Regions from separate parts of the Homo sapiens genome. Here all the other regions are linked to region 4. Evidence: promoter capture Hi-C in 16 types of primary human blood cells and fetal thymus (Javierre and others, 2016). All regions are on one chromosome and are shown on one strand. The core of a region is centred on a gene start or on the middle of the fragment in contact, and the rest is flanking DNA. Distances in the headings are between cores, read along the strand shown.

Region 1 (2,700 bases), core at 166-2,665, 560 kb before region 4:
AAACACTTAGGTTATTTATGTAACCTTACACTTATTAATACAGATGCAAAAATTCTAAATAAAGTATTAATAAAAATCAAGTTATATAATAATAATATACTGCTATAGAGTATTTTAATTATGCCCTATTCTATATATTTCAGGTGTACAGGCTGGTTCACTATCAAGACATCTATTACCGTTAGTAATGAATTATGATAATACTATAAAGGAAAAACCATATGATCCTGTCAATATACACTGGAGGAACATTTTATAAAATTTAATAGCCATTCCTAATAAAAATTCTAAGCCAATAGGGTGTGATGACTTTTCTATTAAAAACAAGTCTAAGTAACAATACAAGGAAACTACTTATCTAGGATAAGGACTGTATCTCTAAACCCAATAGCAAACATTGTTCTAAATAGCAAAACTCTGAAATCATTTCATTGAAATCAGAAATTAGAAAAGGATGTCCATGTGCTATTATTATGTTACATTGTCAAAGTAAGGTAAGAAAATAATTGCCATAAACTTTGAAGAAGACGAAATAAAACTATTTATGTTTGTCTATGTGACTTCATTGTTTGCCTAGAAAACTCGAGGGACTTTAGTAATAAACTATTTGAATTGTAGGTCATTTTGGAAAAGTGGGCAGATGCAAGATAAATATACAAAAAGCACCAACTTCTCTCCGTATTAGCAGTAAGTACTTTGAAAGGAAATTAGAAAACTATTTTATTTTCTACAGTTTTATACAAGCTTAAAATACTTAGGAGTGTAATTTAAAAAAATCTTTTAATTGTCATTTTATAGCTCCCCACCGCAGCTGCCCCCACCCTTCCCTTCGATGACGACGTTTGCAGGGTTCAGGGCGACCAGGGAACAAAGCTGGGGCCTGGCAGACCCACTATGCTGCCAGCTGGAGAAAACAAGTCACAATGACAAATTATCACAATTAGCACCTGTACTTGGGGGAAAAAATCTGCAAATTGGGGAAGCCCCAGCTCCTCATTGTACAGGGGTCTGTTTGGCAGTGACCTTGCTCTGGAGATGACATTCCTTCAGCCTGAGGGAATCGACGTTGATGAACCCGTGGCATCAATCGGCTCATAATCCCCCTGCACGTTCATGCTCACCAGCTCCTCGTTGTAGAGAGACAGTGGGGACTCCCGACCGAGGATATACACCTGGCCCTTGAGGACAGACACCTGCACTTTCCCTTCCACTCATTCCTGGGACTTGGCATTACAGTGGCGGACAAATTCACACTCAGGGCTATGCCAGAAACCGGTATACACCAGCTCAGCAAATTTCAAGCTCAGGCCTTGTTTGATTTTGCGCACTTCTCGGTACATGGTGAAGGCCTTGATGTCTAAATGAGTGTGGTGAAGGATGGTCCCTGCTGGGGCCTCGCAGATACCTCAGGACTTCATTCCAATGAAGCGGTTCTCCACGATGTCAATACGGCCCACGCCGTGCTTGCCTGCAACTTCATTCAGGTACACGAAAAGCTCCAAGGAGGTCTGGTGGGTGGTGCCATCCTTGACGTTGGTCACCTTCACGGGGACCCCTTTTTTGAACTTGATCTCGAGAATGTCAGGGGTGTTGAGGGCTTTGGCTGGGTCCTGGGTCTTCATGTAGAGACCTGGAGGCACTTGGTTCTTGGGGTTCCAGGATTCCAGCCTCATAGCTGATGTGCATGAGGTTCTCGTCTATGCTTCACGGGCTCTGGGGAGTGACTGGAATGGGAACCCGATGTTGCTTTGCCTATTTCATCAGGTCATTGCAGCCCTTGAACCGGTTGTAGAACTCGGGCATCCTCCAGGGAGCGGTGACCTTTATCTGGGGGGCCAGCAAATAGCAGGTGAGCTCAAACCGGACCTGATCATTTCCTTTTCCCGTGGTGCCGTGGAACACATACTTGGCCTCCTCCTGCTTGGCGATTTCCACTTGTTTGCCGGCGATGCCGGGCCTGGCCAGAGAGGTGCCCAGGAGGTAGCGGTTCTCATACAGTGCGCTGGACTGGATGGCCGGCCAGATGAACTCCTCCACAAACTCCCTGCTGGCATCCTCAATGAACACCTTTTTGGTCCCAAGCTTCAGTGCCTTCTTCCAGGCTTCCTCGAAGTCTTCCTTCTGGCCAGTGTTGGCCAGGTAGGCAATGATGTCATAGCCTTGTTCCTTCAGCCACACGAGGATGCAAGAGGTGTCCGGGCTGCCACTGTAGGCCAGAACCACTGAGCCTTTGCTGGACATAGCATCTGGGATTGGAGGCTCGAGTTCCTGGCATCTGCCATCTGTCTTCATGGTACGGTGAACCACTCGGGCTCAGGGAGCGGTGGCAGGCGACAGAGCAGGGAGTATAATTTCAAAATACCAAACCATCCACAAAAACCCAGAGAATAGTACCCATAACCAGCTTCAACAATCGTCAATATTCTGCCCTTCTTGTTTCATCCTGCCTCTCCACCTTACCTACTGTAGTACTACTTTAAAGCAAATTTCAGAAATCAAAATAGTTTCACCTTGACAGTAAAATTAATAAGATATAAGACCTATTTAAAGTTATAAAAGCTCAATTAAAATTATAAATGTTATCTGAACAAATGGAAAGACATCTCATGTTCTTTAATGACTTGGAAACATAAAATCTATTTAAAGATTTTTAAAAATTTATTTATTTATTTATTTTCAGAGACAGGGTCTTGCTCTGTT
Region 2 (2,700 bases), core at 41-2,540, 620 kb before region 4:
ATACAATAGAAATCCCAGAAGTAAATCCTTGCATAAATGATTAAATGATATTCAGTAAGTATGTCAATACCATTCAGTGAGGAAAGGGCAGTCTTTTCAACAAATGATATTGTTAAAATCTGGGTATCCACATGCAAAAAATTGAAGTTGGAGCCTTACCTTACATAGTACAGAAAATGAACTCAAGGCCAGGCACAGTGTCTCACACCTGTAATGTCAGCACTTTGGGAGGCTGAGGCAGGAGGATTGCTTGAGCCCAGGAGTTCAAGATCAGCCTGGGCAACATAGCAAGACCTCTGTCTCTATTAAAAAAAAAATTAGCCAGGCTTGGTGGGACATGCTTGTAGTCCCAGCTACTTGGGAGGCTGAGGTGGGAGGATTGTTTGAGTCTGGGTGGTCAAGGCTGCAGTAAGCTGTGATTGCATCACTGCACTCCAGCCTGGGCAACAGAGCAAGACTCTGTCTCACAAAAACAAAAACAAAAACAAAAAACAAAAAAATAAAACCACACCTCAAAAATGGATCAAAGACCTAAACATAAGACCTAAAACTATAAAACTCTTAGAAAACATAAGGGAAAAGTTTCATGACAGATTTGGCAATGTTTTCTTGGATATAACACCAAAAGACAGGCAGCAAAAGTAAAAATAGGTAAATTAAAGTACTTCACAATTAAGTTTTGTGCATCCAGGGATACAGCCAGCAAGCAGAGTGAAAAGCACCCTATGAAATGGGAATCTTATATTTGATCAGAGGTCAATATCCAGAATATATAAAGAACTCCTACAACAAAACAAAACAAAAATAACCCCATTAAAAAATGAAGTACTTGAATAGACATTTCTCCAAATACATACAAATAGACAGGAAGCTTATGAAAAGATCAACATCACTAATCATTAGGGAAATACAAAGCAAAACCACAATGAGATACCATTTCACACCCATTAGGATGGCTGCTATCAAAAAAAAGTAACAAGCGGCCGGGCGCAGTGGCTCACACCTGTAATCCCAGCACTTTGGGAGGCCGAGGTGGGTGGATCACAAGGTCAGGAGTTTGAGATCAGCCTGGCCAATATGGTGAAACCCCATCTCTTCTAAAAAAAAAAAAAATACAAAAATTACCCGGGTGTGGTGGCAGGCACCTGTAGTCCCAGCTACTCAGGAGGCTGAGGCAGGAGAATCGCCTTAAGCCGCGAGGTGGAGGTTGCAGGGAGCCGAGATTGCACCACTGCACTCCAGCCTGGGTGACAGAGCGAGACTCCATCTCAAAAAAAAAAAAAAAAAAAAGGGTTGGCAAGAATGTGGAGAAATTGGAACTCTTGTACACTATTGGTAGAAATGTAAAATCATCCAGCTGCTATGGAAAACAGTGTGACAGTTCCTCAAAATATTAAAAATGGAATTACCATATAATCCAGCAGTTTCACTTCTGTGTATATATTCAAAATAATTGAAAGAAGAATTTTTAAAAATTGTTTCACATTAAAAACAAATTTCAGTGGCTTTAGGGGTACAAATGGTTTTTGGTTTCATGGATGAAGTGTATAATGGTGAAGTCTGAAATTTTAGTGTACCTATCACCCGAGTAATAGTTACACCCAATATGTAGTTTTTTAAAATCTCTCATCTTCCTCCCACTCTCTCCACTTCTGAATCTCCAATGAACATTATACCACTCTGTATGCCTTTACATACCCAAAGCTTAGCTGCCAATTATAAGTGAGAACATGTGGTATTTGGTTTTCCATTCCTGAGTTACTTCACTTAGAAAAATGGCCTCCAGTTCCATTCAAGTTGCTTCAAAAGACATTATTTCATTCTTCTTTATGGCTGAGTAGTATTCTGTGGTGTATATGTACGACATTTTCTTTATGCATTCATCAGTTCATGGGCATTTAGGTTGGTTCCATGTTCTTGCAATTGCAAATTGTGAAAACAGGATCTCAAAGAGATATTTATACACTCATGTTCATAGCAGCATTATTCACAATAGCCAAATGGTGGAATATCCACGGGTGGATGAATGGATAAAGTATGGTGTGTACATGCAATGGAGTGTTATTCAGCTTTAAAAAGGAACTTTTTACACATGATACAATGTGGATGAAACTTGAGGACATTATATTAAGTGAAATAAGCCAGTCGCAAATGGGCAAATACTGTCTGATTTTACTTACATGAGGTACCTAGAGTGGTCAGACTCATGAAAACTGTAAGTAGAATGGTGGTTGCCAGGTGGGGGAGGGAAAATAGGGAGCTATTTAATCGATACGGAGTTTTTTTTTTGAGGCAGAGTCTTGCTCTATCGCCCAGGCTGGAGTGCAGTGGAGTGATCTTGGCTCACTGCAACCTCTACCTCCCGGGTTCAAGCAATTCTTCTGCTTCAGCCTCCCAAGTAGCTGGGACTACAGGCGAGTTCCGCCACGCCAGGCTGGTCTTGAACTCCTGACCTCAGGTAATCCACCTGCGTTGGCCTCCCAAAGTGCTGGGATTACAGGTGTGAGCCACCGTGCCTGGCCGAGTTTCAGTTTTTCAAGATGAAAAAGTTCTGGTGATTAGCATGGCAATATGAAGTGCCTGAAAGTCTTCACTGCCTGCCATACCTTTAGCTATACATTGTGCCATGTGATCTTGCTTTTCTGGCCACTAATACACTATAGACAATGGACTAGGCCTAACAAGCAGGACGTGGAAACT
Region 3 (2,700 bases), core at 135-2,634, 600 kb before region 4:
ACATGGCAAAACCTAATCTCTACTAAAAATACAAAATTAGCTGGGCGTGGTGGTGCATGCCTATAATCCCAGCAACTCCAGAGGCTGGGCAGGAGCATCGCTTGAACCCGGGAGGCAGAGGTTGCAGTGAGCCGAGATCACGCCATTGTACTCCAGCCTGGGCAACAAGAGCGAAACCCCATCTCAAAAAAAAAAAGAAAGAATATAGGGTCGGGTGTGGTGGCTCACGCCTGTAATCCCAGCACTTGGGGAGGTGGAGGCCAGTGGATCACCTGAGGTGAGGAGTTCAAGACCAGCATGGCCAACCTGGTGAAACTCCGTCTCTACTAAAAAATACAAAAGTTAGCTGGGCGTGGTGGTGGGCACCTGTAATCCCAGCTACTTGGGAGGCTGAGGCAGGAGAATCACTTCGGAGGTTGCAGTGATCACGCCGCTGCACTCCAGCTTGGGTGAGACAGAGTGAGACTTTGTCTCAAAAAAAAAGAGAATATAGGAAGGCAATGGAGTGAAGCAGAGTCAAGTGAATCTTGTTTAATTCTCAAAAACTAAGCTTATTTCCAAGTTTAGTTGTGCTATCACACAGTATTAACTGTTGCCAAATTTAATTATTGGCATTTGTAATTTACATTGCTTGTTTTTTTTTTTTTTTGTTTTTTTTTTTGTTTTTTTTTTAGGAATCCCTGGGCCACTGGAGTCAAGGCTTGAAGATTTCTATGCAGGACCCCAAAATGCAGGTCAGAATACAATTTTGGAATTTCAGTACATTTCATGTTGTAAATGACCACTCCACAGAGGTCTTAATTACAAATGAAATCAAAGGATATCAGTCTTTCTGAATGAGATTCATTTTATTGGGCTGTTCTGTGAGAACAAGAGGCTTTTCACATTGGCAATAAAGTAGCAGCTGTCATTGTTTGGAGAGAAAGCTGAGTTCTTCAAATGAATATCCCCTCTGCCTTGTGCCTTTTAAACTTCTGGGTACTTTAAGGGAAGTTGCATTAACCTTAGTATGGTTCCTTTCAGGGGAGCATCAGAGATAATACACTGTGACAGTAGTACTGTGCTGCCCTGGCATTAACAGTCAGACATCCCTGTAATCCCAGCACTTTGGGAGGCCGAGACGGGAGGATCACCTGAGGTCAGGAGTTCGAGATCAGCCTGACCAACATGGAGAAACCCTGTCTCTACTAAAAATACAAAAAATTAGCTGGGCATGGTGGTGCATGCCTGTAATCTCAGCTACTCGAGAGGCTGAGGCAGGAGAATCACTTGAATCCGGGAGGTGGAGGTTGCGGTGAGCTGAGATTGCACCATTGTACTCCAGCCTGGGCAACAAGAGCGAAACTCCATCTCAAAAAAAAAAAAAAAAAAAAAAAAACAGGCATCATCCTTGAGGAGCCTTTGAGTCCCACTTCAATTATATTCCTTGTTGACAAGGGGCAGGTCTAATAGGGCTCACTGGAACCCACGTGTACGTGTCACACAGTCTGCCATGTTGGAGTGGAGAAGGATGCTTTTGAATTTATGTCTACAGAGATTTTACATCACATTCTTGGGAACTATTTTGTACTGTGCATCTTCTGTGTATTCTGTGTAGTGTGGTGGTTGAAAACAGACTCTGGAGTCAACCACATCTGAGTTGGAATCCTAGATTTCCCTCTTAGGAACTATGACTTGTGCAAGACACTCAACCTGTCTGAATTTCAGTGCTCTCCTCTCTCAAAACTGGGCTATTAAAACCATTTGCACAAGACTGTGGGAATTAAGTGACTTAGTGAATATAACAACCAGGCACACAGAAGATTCTTAGTAGATGTCTGTTTCCTTCTCTTGTATCCCTCTGCTAGGTTTACAAAGATGAGCAGGTGGTGGTGATAAAGGATAAATACCCAAAGGCCCGTTACCATTGGCTGGTCTTACCGTGGACCTCCATTTCCAGTCTGAAGGCTGTGGCCAGGGAACACCTTGAACTCCTTAAGCATATGCACACTGTGGGGGAAAAGGTGATTGTAGATTTTGCTGGGTCCAGCAAACTCCGCTTCCGATTGGGCTACCACGCCATTCCGAGTATGAGGTAAGCCAGGTGGGTAGTGCTGCTGGCTCCTGGTTCTGTCCAGGTGGGCAGATAGATTCAGCCTGGGCTTGCTGAGGGCACATATTGCACTGAGACCCAGGGAAGTGGGATGGAGTTTTTCCAAAGCAGGTGGGCTGAAGCTTCCACCTCTCTGCCTGACTTGCATGCAAGCTTTGAGTTCCCACTTCTGCCTATAATTCAGTCATATTTGGTTCTTTGTTCCTCTCAAAATATAAATCTTCGAGAGCCTAATATATGAACTAGATGAAGCAGCTTCATTATCCTCAGATAAAGAATTGTGGTCAGTGGCTTTTATCAGATTCTTCAAAAGCGTCTATAACCCCAGAATGATTAAGGACCATTACTCTGAAGGAAACAAACATCATAGACTTCTGTAATGACAGCGTAGTAGATCCAGGATTTGAAAATAAAATGAGAGAAAAGTATAGAATTTGTTTTCCTGTGGCTTATGCCCAGAAGGATTCAGAAAGGAATGACTGATTTCTTTCAAAGAATACAAGCAAGGTGGATCTCCGTGATTTCTTTGATTTAAGCAATAAGATGATAAGTCTAGATTTTAGAGTTTTTATTTTGTTTTTAAAAAACTGTGATATAATATACATAAC
Region 4 (2,700 bases), core at 6-2,505:
CAAGAAGCAGGCCCAATGAATGAAGCCTCTGAAGCATTTCCTACACCAGCATCCTCAAAGTGTGGTGCAGAGAACTCCTAGGGATCTCCAAAGTCAAAACCATTTTCCTAGTAATAAAATGTTACTTGCTTTTTTTCATTCACACATTTTCAGGAGTATACAGTGGAGGTCTCAAGAGGCTACATGATATGTGATATTGCAACAGACTGCAGAAGCAGCTATCAGAATCCAGCTGTCTTCAATTACGCTTGACATCAAAGAGATTTGCAAAAATGTAAAACAATGCCACTCTTCTCAATCATTTTCTGTTTTGGGAAATATAGTTCTTTTTCATAAAAATAGGCAATGTTAAGATATAATTAGTTCACTATTCTTTTTAAATGAATTATTATAGTACAAATTTCTCAGTCTTACTTACATATTATAAATATGGATAGATATAACACACATAAAAGCTCCTTAAGATACTAATTTTTAAGAGTGTAAAGGAGTACTGAGTACCAGAAAAGTTTGGGGACTTCTGTCCTAGAGGTTGTCCCCCAGGGAAGAGAGTTACATGTGTTGCAAGAAGGAAGATGCCATTATGATGTGCTAGCTGAATCTAGAAAAAAATGACTTGGTCATAACTGCAGCCCAAGCTCCTTTCTAGATCTCTGAATCTATCATGGTGGGCTCTGTGTTCAAGCCTCCCACGAAGGGTCTCTTCCCCCTCATCCCATTTTCCCTTTACCCCTTGGAGTGGATTCCCGGATCTGCCCGCACAACTTTAGCAAGGGTTTCCCTATCCAGCCAGCCGGGCCTGGGCGAGGACTCCCAGTGCGGGCCTCACACCCTCGGGGTTAGGACTCCCAGGACTGGCCGCACACCCTAGGCAAGGACTTTCAGGACAGCACGCACAGCCAAGGCTAAGAAGGGTCTAGGAAAGCCACTTCCAATCCCTGGTTTCTCTCCCCGGCATGACATAGACTGGGGACAGGGTGGAGACGTCAGTCGCCAGAAACACGTCCCCGATTCTCCTCTCAGCCTCCCCAAGCTCGCCTCCGTGTCCCCCGTGCCGCCACTGCCTCGGGCACCTCGGTAAAGGCCCGCACCGACTCTCGAGGGATACAGGGTGGACGGCGCTCCCGCCTGGGGACGTGGGTCGGGCCGCGTCGGTACTCACCTCCGACTGCACGGCGGGGCTCCCGCGACCGGCGAACCTGACCCAAGCAGCGGGACGCGTTCCCGTGCGCTGCGCGGTTCCAGCTGCCGCCTCCACGCTCCGCCCCCTCTCGCCCCCGGGGCCGCCGCGCGATGGGCGGAGCAGGGGCGGGAAGGGCGGAGCAGGGGCGGGACGGACGGGCAGCTAGCCGAAGAAGGGGCGGAGCCTGCGGGCGCCCCCGCGGGCCTGGAGGACTTCGCCCCGGGCTGGAGGCTAGGGTTGCGAAGGGCTCCTCCGCTGGAAGTGGGAGGGCTGATCCCTCGGCCCGGGTCCGCTTCTGCCAGCATGGGACCTGGGACGAGGGTGTCTGTTGCTCACTTTGGAGCTTAGCATGTGACTCCCCAGCCGGCGTTAGGAAGTGACCAAAGGGTGGGGAAGAAATGGAATTATTTTTAAAAAATGATTTGGCCATAACTGGAGAGGCTTCATGTACGTGTGGTCACTTGGCCCGCCTCCCTTCTCACTTTGTCCGTCCCCACCCTACCCACCCTCTCCACCCTCGCCTTAATTCTTTGCGCAAAGCCTGCCAAGTGGACATCGGAGTCACGCTGTCAGAATAGGACTTCAGCATTTCCGTGGCAAAAGTTCTATATGTAGATTTCCTTGGACATGTAACAACACTTTCTAATGCACGATGTTCACCGGTCTGAAGTCGGAGAAATGGCTGGGAGATGGCAGCAAGTGGGCTTTCACAAGATCTGCTTTTCATGTTGGTAGGAGTTGTGCCCTCTTGGGTGAATGGCGTTCAAAGAAGTGATTAGATCTTTCTAGATGAAAGGTGGTGAGGTTTTCCTGCCCAAATTATTTGGAAAGTTACTGTAGTTTTCTGAATAAGCAGCTTATAGGATGAGTAAACAATAGCCAGTACTAATAGCCCCCCTGCTACTTTATACTGCCCTCCTATTCTGCACAAAGCCCTGTGATCGACTCTTTCCACGTTATTCAGTTCAGCTCTTCCAACCACCTTACAAGTAAAGAATATTACCCGTCTTTGCAGGTGTGCAATGCGCAACAGCTGAGACTCAGTCCTTAGGTTGGTTTGACACCAAAGCCTACACCTTCCCTGTCATACTGCACTATAGGGTACAACTATCGTCTAGTTATATTTAACTTTGAAATATAAATACTTATATTTATTTTGAAAGGGGAAGTAACTGTATTTCCAATATGAGAGGAGACTGTTTTCCCACCCACTTCCTAAATCCTTTCCATTCACATTAGTAATTAAATTTTCTTTGAATGTCCACCATATGGCAGAGGTGCACCACAATCCCTGAAAAATCATGCTCCAGTCCCCTTGGGAGGTAGGGAGAGTAGGGGCAAGGTGAGAGTGAGTAGAAGGCTGGGGAAGTCCGATGAGGACACATCCAGCTAAATTGCGATTCTTAATGAGGCAGCCATTCGGAAAGCAAAGTATCTAATGTTCAATGATAACATCCGTGTAACTGAGAATCCTTCGCAGAAAACAATCAAATCAGAGCTATGAAGGGAATTGAGAT
Region 5 (2,700 bases), core at 81-2,580, 540 kb before region 4:
TAGCACCAATGAGATTTGTCCCAGTTTTACATTTCCTTAGTCATTTCAGACACCTATGCTCAGATCTCCATCTGTTTTTTGAGTTGAACATCTTTTCCCACCTCTCTCCTCCACCAGTTGTCTGTTGCCTTTAATTAACCTCTAAATAGATAACACATTCTTCTTTAATTGTAGTATGGAAATGTCTACGAACAAAACAGATACTTTTTTTTTTTTTTTTTTTTTGCAAATGCGTAGGAAAGAGTGGTTCCAGTCAAGTTCATCCGAAGTTTTAGGCAGCTGCATCTACACAGCCCCGGGGGCATGGAGGTCAGTGTCTGGGGACAGAGGTAAATACCCACCATCTGTGCATCCCTTTGATTTTCCTTTTTTAGTGCCTGATTAATCATCTGGTGCTGAGGGACAGTTCTTGTTTCTTTAAATTCTTCTGGTTTGATTTGGATTTTATACATCACCTACAGCCTCCTGAAATGTCAGTGACTTGGATAGCTGTAGCTCCAGAAAACTTCTCTTTGAGAATTTGGGTCCCTTTGAGCTCCCCGTCAGTCTGGGAGGCAAACATTCAATGAACACAGTGCAGAAGAGGAAGCCTGCAGATCCTGCGTGGAGAGGAGCTACAAGGGCAGGGTTCCACATCTCTGTGTCTGACTGATGTAGCCCGCCGCCCTAGGCCACTGGGCCACCTGAAAGCTGAGCATCCTTTTTAAAAGAATTTTTGGACCTTTTATTTTGAAATAATTTTAGACTTAAAGAAAAGTTGCAAAAATTAAATGGAGTTCCTTTATACCCTTCACCCTGCTACCCCTGTTAACATCTTACATAATCAGGAAATTAACATTGACAGGAAATTAACCAGGACATGAAACCAGGAAATTAACATTCGTACAATGCTTGTAACTAAATTGCAGACCTTATTCAAATTTCCCCAGCTTTCCCCTAATGTTGTATTATTGAGCATCTTTAAAAAATGATTTTTAATGCATCAGAAATACTCACAAATGATTTGCATCGGATCTGTAGTCATACCTGGAGGCCCAAAGAGTGGGTTATATTAATTTTGAGTTATATGTTTGGTCATTTGTGTGTTAATTTTGAAATCACAGACTAGCTCAGTGCCAAGCATGTAGTCTTGGCCGAATGAACATTGACTGTGGCCCTATGCTTCACACTGTGATTTCAAAGATGAGCTAGATGGAGTCTCTGGAGTCAGCATTAAAATCTCTAGGGAAAATCATGTTCTTATGTTGGTAATTCCAAAGATAAGCTGTAAGGAGCACAGTTGGAGCATTTGCTCTCTAGAGATCACATGTTGTAAGGAAATTTTGCTTTTCTGAAAATTAGAAATTAGAAAAATCCTGTCAGCCAGTAAACTTTTAACAAATGGTGGAAACTAGAGCGAGACTGGGAGGAGAGGTATCAGGAATTAGGAAATGTAGCCTTGGCTGGCCTCCTCACCACACCTGGAAATATATCCCTTTGAGAGTAAATTAATGGGACCCCTACATTTACGGAATGAGGATAGTACTGATATTTGGATAACACTCTATAACCAGTGGTTTTCCATACAGCATGCCATTAAAAATCCTCCTCTCAAAACCTGATCATGGTGGTCTGGTGTGCAGAGTGAAATAAAGCATCTTCACCGGCTCTGTTTCTTTCCAGGCTTAGAGATGGCCTGGATCCAGAGGCCCCCTGTGAGTGCAGTCAGTGCGAGCCCTTCAACATGCCCTATATGGTGTCTGCTTCAGACAACTCTCATGCCTATGCTGTCAGGACCGGAATCCTCCCCACCAGGTATGGCCTTGCCTAGGGATTCTAAGTCTTATGTTTACCTGTGCTGTGCAGGTCAAATGTTCTAGTAGTGAAGGAATGACCCACTGATAGAAATGAAGTAGAGAAAGGCGACAATTTAGGAATTTCACCACTAGGCTAAACTACTTCCAAACATTCAGAGAACCTTGGATGAGCAGTTCAAAGTCCAGGGCAAGCACAGAAAATGTTGTGAACAGGTTTCACTCTTTATTCTCCTTTGTTATGAAGATGATGTATTAGTAACAGTGCTACAGGTAGTTAGGCATGAGTGGGGCAGGAGAGGGCTCTCCCTCCACCCACTAGAAATGTCGGGTGATGGTTTGGCAATTATTGCATCGCTTCTCTAAAACTTATAATTTGGCAGCGCCAGGGAGAGGCCATTTCCTGATGGTTCACACCTGTTAACATCAAAATGCTAATTGAATGCAGGCCCCAGGGAGAAGCAACTTCCTGGGCATGCGTGTTAAGAGACAAAAATGGTGAAATATGATCTTCTGGGGGCACCCTCCACTGGAAAAGGAAGAAAGCCTCAGATGGGCATGTGTACAACTCCCTAAACTCACTGTGTGTGCTCAATTCCAAAGAGTAAGGAAAGCATGGGCATGCGGAAAGCCCACCCTAAGGGAAGAATCCTGGGAGAGAGGCGAGCCTATATAGTCCCCTATAAAGGCGAACCTATAAAGATCAAGGTCAAAGGCCCCTTTTGCTGTCTTCTTTTGCTCTCATTTCTCTCTTGGACCTTCAGTGCCTGCTTGGGTCTCTTTCAAGCTAATTTTCCTTTCTTTCCTGTTCTAAAGGCTTTTAAATAAACTTCCACTCCTTCTCTGAAACTTGGCTTGGTCTCTTTTCTGCTTTATGCCCCTCGGTTGAATTTTGGACCCATACAGA

Evidence for each region. The method cuts DNA at HindIII sites, captures the fragments that hold promoters and counts their contacts. A CHiCAGO score of 5 or more calls a contact.
Region 1: a contact is called between a fragment that was not itself captured here and the fragment with the promoter of ACO1 in region 4, in 2 of 17 cell types (erythroblasts and endothelial precursors). The highest score is 6.7, in erythroblasts.
Region 2: a contact is called between a fragment that was not itself captured here and the fragment with the promoter of ACO1 in region 4, in 4 of 17 cell types (erythroblasts, monocytes, M2 macrophages and 1 more). The highest score is 12.1, in erythroblasts.
Region 3: a contact is called between a fragment that was not itself captured here and the fragment with the promoter of ACO1 in region 4, in 15 of 17 cell types (erythroblasts, M0 macrophages, M2 macrophages and 12 more). The highest score is 15.0, in erythroblasts.
Region 5: a contact is called between a fragment that was not itself captured here and the fragment with the promoter of ACO1 in region 4, in 3 of 17 cell types (M2 macrophages, erythroblasts and M0 macrophages). The highest score is 6.0, in M2 macrophages.

The regions. Positions count from the first base shown.
Region 1 is chr9:32,945,537-32,948,236 of GRCh38, reverse strand. It overlaps the pseudogene ASS1P12. Among named protein-coding and RNA genes, the nearest start is that of APTX, 55 kb to the left of the region's middle. The HindIII fragment of the contact is 1,338 bases long and covers 747-2,084 here.
Region 2 is chr9:33,003,221-33,005,920 of GRCh38, reverse strand. It overlaps a transcript of APTX not described here. Among named protein-coding and RNA genes, the nearest start is that of APTX, 2.9 kb to the right of the region's middle. The HindIII fragment of the contact is 833 bases long and covers 874-1,706 here.
Region 3 is chr9:32,984,005-32,986,704 of GRCh38, reverse strand. APTX (aprataxin) reads left to right here. Exons shown (of 8, transcript NM_001195248.2): 5 at 675-734; 6 at 1,848-2,074. Among named protein-coding and RNA genes, the nearest start is that of APTX, 16 kb to the left of the region's middle. The HindIII fragment of the contact is 1,664 bases long and covers 553-2,216 here.
Region 4 is chr9:32,383,198-32,385,897 of GRCh38, reverse strand. It overlaps ACO1 (aconitase 1), which reads right to left and starts at 1,255. Exons shown (of 21, transcript NM_002197.3): 1 at 1,163-1,255. RefSeq lists a silencer at 1,075-1,454. The HindIII fragment of the contact is 14,350 bases long and covers 1-2,700 here.
Region 5 is chr9:32,923,991-32,926,690 of GRCh38, reverse strand. It overlaps the pseudogene BOLA3P4. Among named protein-coding and RNA genes, the nearest start is that of APTX, 76 kb to the left of the region's middle. The HindIII fragment of the contact is 3,149 bases long and covers 1-2,700 here.